2 separate regions of the Homo sapiens genome follow, and region 1 is linked to region 2. Evidence: promoter capture Hi-C in 16 types of primary human blood cells and fetal thymus (Javierre and others, 2016). All regions are on one chromosome and are shown on one strand. Each heading gives the region's core, a stretch centred on a gene start or on the middle of the fragment in contact. The rest is flanking DNA. Distances are from core to core; before and after follow the strand shown.

Region 1 (2,700 bases), core at 76-2,575, 280 kb after region 2:
TGTCTAAAAGGGAAAAGAAAAGAGATTGGAGCCAGATAGCCCCCTAATGATTCCCGAAGTGGTAATCCTACCCTAAAGACGGATGTTTACGCCTCCAAGGAAATAAAGAGACACCCACCTTCCAGGGAATGTTGGCTTTCCAGCAGCGCCAGGCTTCACTGAGGTGCTGCAGGATTGTCCGGGCCTTGTTCTGCTTGATCCCCTCAGGCATCATGTCCAGAATATCATGCATCACAGCTGCCCGCAGCTCAAGGTCAAAATGTGACTCCACTCGCTGCTTTGTTACTGTCTTTGCCACCCCCTTTGAGTGTCGACCTGGAAGTAGAGTGTCCCAAGGGGATTACAAGGAAGATTCCTTGCTTTCAATAAGGGTCTCTACCTTCATGCTCCTCACTCATTATGGTTATTAATAAAATTAGGTATTAACAAAGCGTCCCTGTGCCCAGCATATGCAAAAAGACGAGCTACCTTAAACATTCACAACTATGCTTCTGAGGAATTTCCACTCCTGCAAATGCATGACTGCCTCTCAAGGCCCCAGAAGGAAGCCCAAGAAATAGAATACTAGGTCAGACTCATTTCAGAACTGGACCTAAAGGCAATCCAGTAGGAAGAGTGCTCATACAAGAGCAGGGAACAGACTCAAACAGGGGCAGGTACTTTTGAAGCAATAACAGGAGAAGTTGGACACAGAGAAAACCACTCACCTTCAAACTGCCGGGCCAGGAGGTTGCCAAGCCATCGCTCTAATAAAGGGGTAATGCCACGCATGAAAAAGAGCCAGACTCGCCAACCGGCAGCCCAGAAGCCACAGCCAGGACCCTTCCCTACAGGGCCCTACGATCCCAAGCAGAAGTTAAGAATACAAGTTAGCAATGCATTTAAACAACAATAGAAACCTGGGCAGAGGTGGGGCATATATGTATAATATACATACAGAGGAATGTAGGTATGGCAGTAGAGGGGTAAAAAGAAAAAAAAACTCTGGGACCTCAACATCTAAAACAAAAGGGTAAATGAGAAACCTTAAGGCAAAAACCAGGAACTAAGATCGCCCATGTGAATTTAAAGGAGCAGTAAGGACACAGTCATAGCTGCTCTCCAAATAGGTCCCTGGAAAGAGCCCTGTCTAAATGTATACATGAAAAAAGATCTGAGAAAGTTAAGTCCAGTGAGGCTGGGCACGGTGACTCACGCTGGTAATCCCAGTACTTTGGGAGGCCGAGGAGTGTGGATCACCTGAGGTCAGGAGTTCAAGACCAGCCTGGCCAATACAGTGAAACCCCATCTCTACTAAAATTTCAAAAACTAGCCAGGCATGGTGGTGCGCGCCTGTAGTCCCAGCTACTTGGGAGGCTGAAGCAGGAGAATCACTTCAACCCGGGAGGCGGAGGCTGTGGTGAGCCAAGATCGTGCCATTGTACTCCAGCTGGGGCAACAGAGAAAGACTCAGTTTCAAAACAAAACAAAAAAAAAATTGCCAGGCGTGGTGGCGGGCACCTGTAATCCCAGCTACTCGGGAGGCTGAGGCAGGAGAATTGCTTGAACTCAGGAGGCGGAGGTTGCAGTGAGCCAAGATCGTGCCATTGCACACCAGCCCAAGAGACAAGAGTAAGACTCTGTCTCAAAAAAAAGAAAGTCAGTAAAGTCAAGGTCTCACCGTGTTGAAACGATAATAGATGAGATGCTTCAGGTCCTTGCACATGCGAATCTGTCGCATCAGCTTGTATTTGTATCGATACATGCCCGTCAACTGCCCAACATGGGCAAATATATACTGCAATCCATCTGCCAGCTGCAATACAATTGCCCCATCAGACCTGGAGCTTAAACCAGCTCCACGGTCAGCACAGGCTTCCTCCAGCGTCCTCACCCAGGCAGGGGTTGGGAATACCTAACCTTACCTGGAAGGCATCCACATTGCCCAGCCGATACTGCACGTGACTATCCACCACCAGCTTAGTCAAACGCAGAACTTCCCGACACAGGTGGAAAGCATTCCCAAAACGAGATTTCTTTCTTTCCTGGAGAAGATGCAAAAAACAGACAGAACGTGAATGAGCAATGGACCCAACTGATGTATGCCTTCATCAGTAACCAGAGGAAAACAACTGTCCGTCCTTGAAGCCCAGGAGGCCCCTAGGGTCCAATGCAGGCACCTTGGTGGTGAGCGTTTTCACAGGCTTGAGGTTGAAGTTGTAGTCCAGGTGCAGGTAGTTGAGGTTTTTGCGGTGAATGAGAAGGTTGAGCATGTTGTAGCCCTGGCGGCAAACCTGGAGCCCAACCTCCACCCAGTCCAGCTTTGTGGACTGAAAGAATTTGGTGGCTTTGAAGGAGCGGAACAAATACCTGAGGTGGGAACATGGAGAGTAAGAGTCAGCCTACTGATATCTCTGGAACAGAAGTCTGCGCAGGGCCCCTGGGGCACCTTACCTCTTCTTTTGAGCCTTAGGGGGCCGATGCTTCAGGGCATTCAGCACATAGTACTTAAGCAGCTTCTGGTAGGAGACCCTCACTTTCACAGGCTGCCCGGCAGGACAATGCTCCCGATACCTGGAAAAATAAGCCCACCAGAGTTTGGCCATCTCTTCTTCCAGACACTCTGCTAAAGGCTGCAAGCCTTGGGTTGTCTACCATTTTTATGGGAAAAAAAAAAAAAGAATTTAAAAAAAAGGCTACATGCCCACCTAGTTGGAGTCT
Region 2 (2,700 bases), core at 39-2,538:
TTCATAACTCAAAAAACCCAGCCTCAGCCGAGCGCCTGGAATAGGTTAAGATCCCCCACGAAGTACAGACCAGCATTCCGAGCCTGCAGAGTCAACCAAAATACAGTTACTGAACACTATTGGAAATAACTTTATTTCAACAGGTCTTCCCATTTGTCATCACGGTGCGCACAAACTGTAAAGTCATCGTTTTTACAAACGGGGGGACGGAGGCTCGGGCTCTACAAAGGCTCGAACTCTCAGAGTCGTGGCCTCCTGGTTCTATCCATCAGAACCCACGGGTGATGGAGCCAGAGAAAGGTTACAGGAACTTCGAGATCTCCTGTTTTAAGTCTGAGGAAAGGGAGGGAGTGAGGATTTTCTGGGCCTCCCCAGAAGACGACGAGGAGGAAAAGCCCCGAAACCCCTCACTACGAGGTGCCGGCCTACGGGAAAGAAACCCGATCGCAGCATGGGAGCCTGCCACCGCCCGAAGACGAACTGCAGTGATTCCCACTCACCCCTCTCCCCCCACCATCATCCACGACTGTCCCCCACCTCAGGCCTGAGGAAGCCCATCGCTCTCAAAGGTCCTCCTTTGTGAGACTCCACGGCCGCCGCCCCACACGGGGCCTCCGGGGAAAAGCCACCGCCCCCACCCGCCATATTTCCCTGAAAGGCGCCCGCGCTACAGCTCCCGGTCTTCGCTCTCTCCCATGTGGCGGGTGCTGCTTCCCCCGTCACCCCACCCAATTGTTCTCCACATCCCAAGGCCGTCCCAGAAGCTCCCATGAGGGTGGCTCGTTCGGAGACAGCACCCGCCATCTCCTCCCCCTCCCCCGCCCCGGGACTCGCCCTCCCCCCAGCCGCCATTTTACAACCAACTCCTCCACCCCGTCGCCCCGGCCTCCCGGCCCGCGAGTTGTTTGCAGTTAAGGACGGCGAAGGGGTCACATTCCAGGGCATAGAGCCTCCCATCGCCCCGGGAGCTCCCAGGCCATTTCCTGCTTCCCGAACCCAAGCCCCCGGGCCAGGCTCGCAGACGATGCCGCCATTTTGTCTCCTGTTCCCGGCCTCTGTGGGCGGCGGCAGAGGGTCCGAGAATTCCAGCCCCCCGTTGCCCCCCCAACTCACCGTCGTATCGCTCAGCCTGCTCGGCCAGCTTCGCCTGGTACACCAGATCCTCTCGATCATCCATAGCGGCAGCGGCTCCGGCAGGGTCTGCGCGACGGATGGAAGCGGATAGTGTCTCCGACTCTCTCAGCCTCTCGCTCCGCGTCCGGGCAGCAAAAATGGCGGCGCCTCAATCCGGGACTTCCGCCTGCGCACGCGGACAACTGCTCAGCTCTATGGCAACCGCTCCCTGGCAACTGGCGCGGGGGGCGGGTCCTGGAACTCGGCGCCCGAAGCGGCTGGAACGAGCGCACGAGACGCCTCTCCTCTGTCGGCTCAGCGGGCGCCGGAGCCCAGAGGCGGGAACTGCGACTGCCGAAAGGGAGCGGCCCCCGGGGAACGAGAAGGGCTGAGGCGGGGCCGGCCGGGACTGCTCCTGAAAAAAGCCAGCGAGAGACCTGGGTCAGACCGGGGCCCGAGGCCCGACCTGCGGAAAAGAACGACGGAGGCTGTAACGGTTTCTGTCATGGCAGGTCTTCTTTCCCGAAATCTGAGGCTGTCACTACCGCGCCCTGGTTTTCTTTTCTTTTTTCTTTTTTCTTTTTTCTTTTTGAGACGGAGTTTCCCTCTTGTTCCCCAGGCTGGAGTGCAGTGGTGCGATCTCGGGTTACCACAACGTCCGCCTTCCCGGGTTCAAGTGATTCTGCTGCCTCAGCCTCTCGAGTAGCTGGGATTTCAGGCCCCCGCCACCACCCCCAGCTTTTGTATTTTTAATAGAGATGGGGTTTCACCATGTTGGCCAGGCTGGTCTCGAACTCCCGACCTCAGATGATCCGCCCCCCCTCGGCCTCCCAAAGCGCTGGGATTCCAGGGGTGAGCCACCGCGCCCAGCCCACGTCCTAGTTTTCTCGGCCAAGCCTGGTCATGGGCCTTTTTCAGACACTTTTAGACTCAGGGTAACGAACCGGGCCCTGGCCGGGCGCGGCGGCTCATGCCTGTCATCCCAGCACTTTGGGAGGCCAAGGCGGGAGGATCACAAGGTCAGGAGTTCGAGACCAGCCTGGCCAATATAGTGAAACCCCGTCTCTACTAAAAATACAAAAAATTAGCTTGGCATGGTGGTGCATGCCTGTCATCCCAGCTACTCAGGAGGCTGAGGCAGGAGAATCTCTTGAACCCGGGAGGCGGAGGTTACAGTGAGCCGAGATCCTCCCATTGCACTCCAGCCCAGGCGACAGTGTGAGACTGTGTTTCAAAAGAAAAATTATATATATATACAAAAATTAGCTGGGCGTGGTGGTGCATGCCTGTAATCCCAGCTACTCCAGAGGCTGAGGCAGGAGAATCGCTTGAACCCGGGAGTGGGAGGGTGCAGTGAACCGAGAGCACACCATTGCACTCCAGCCTGGGCAACAAGAGCACAACTCTGTCTCAAAACAAAGAAAAAGAAAAAAAACGAACTGGGCCCTGTTACAGTTGTCAGGGACAGGGGAGCTCCAGTTTTCACGCCTCAACTTTCCCCTCACACTGATCTTTGTCTTCTCCTGTTTAACCTTTTTCCCTCCCTAGGCCCACTATGAATAGGAGCAGGGAATTTGTTAGATGAGG

What was found. Contacts are between HindIII fragments. The CHiCAGO score rates a contact against its expected background, and 5 or more counts as called.
Region 1: a contact is called between a fragment that was not itself captured here and the fragment with the promoter of YWHAE in region 2, in 1 of 17 cell types (neutrophils). The highest score is 5.6, in neutrophils.

What each region holds. Positions count from the first base shown.
Region 1 is chr17:1,676,858-1,679,557 of GRCh38, forward strand. It overlaps PRPF8 (pre-mRNA processing factor 8), which reads right to left. Exons shown (of 43, transcript NM_006445.4): 10 at 2,434-2,553; 11 at 2,160-2,349; 12 at 1,905-2,024; 13 at 1,661-1,795; 14 at 708-837; 15 at 119-315. Among named protein-coding and RNA genes, the nearest start is that of PRPF8, 6.7 kb to the right of the region's middle. The HindIII fragment of the contact is 3,942 bases long and covers 1-2,700 here.
Region 2 is chr17:1,398,934-1,401,633 of GRCh38, forward strand. It overlaps YWHAE (tyrosine 3-monooxygenase/tryptophan 5-monooxygenase activation protein epsilon), which reads right to left and starts at 1,289. Exons shown (of 6, transcript NM_006761.5): 1 at 1,114-1,289. The coding sequence starts at 1,177. RefSeq lists enhancers at 1-511, 512-1,149, 1,150-1,787. The HindIII fragment of the contact is 7,246 bases long and covers 1-2,700 here.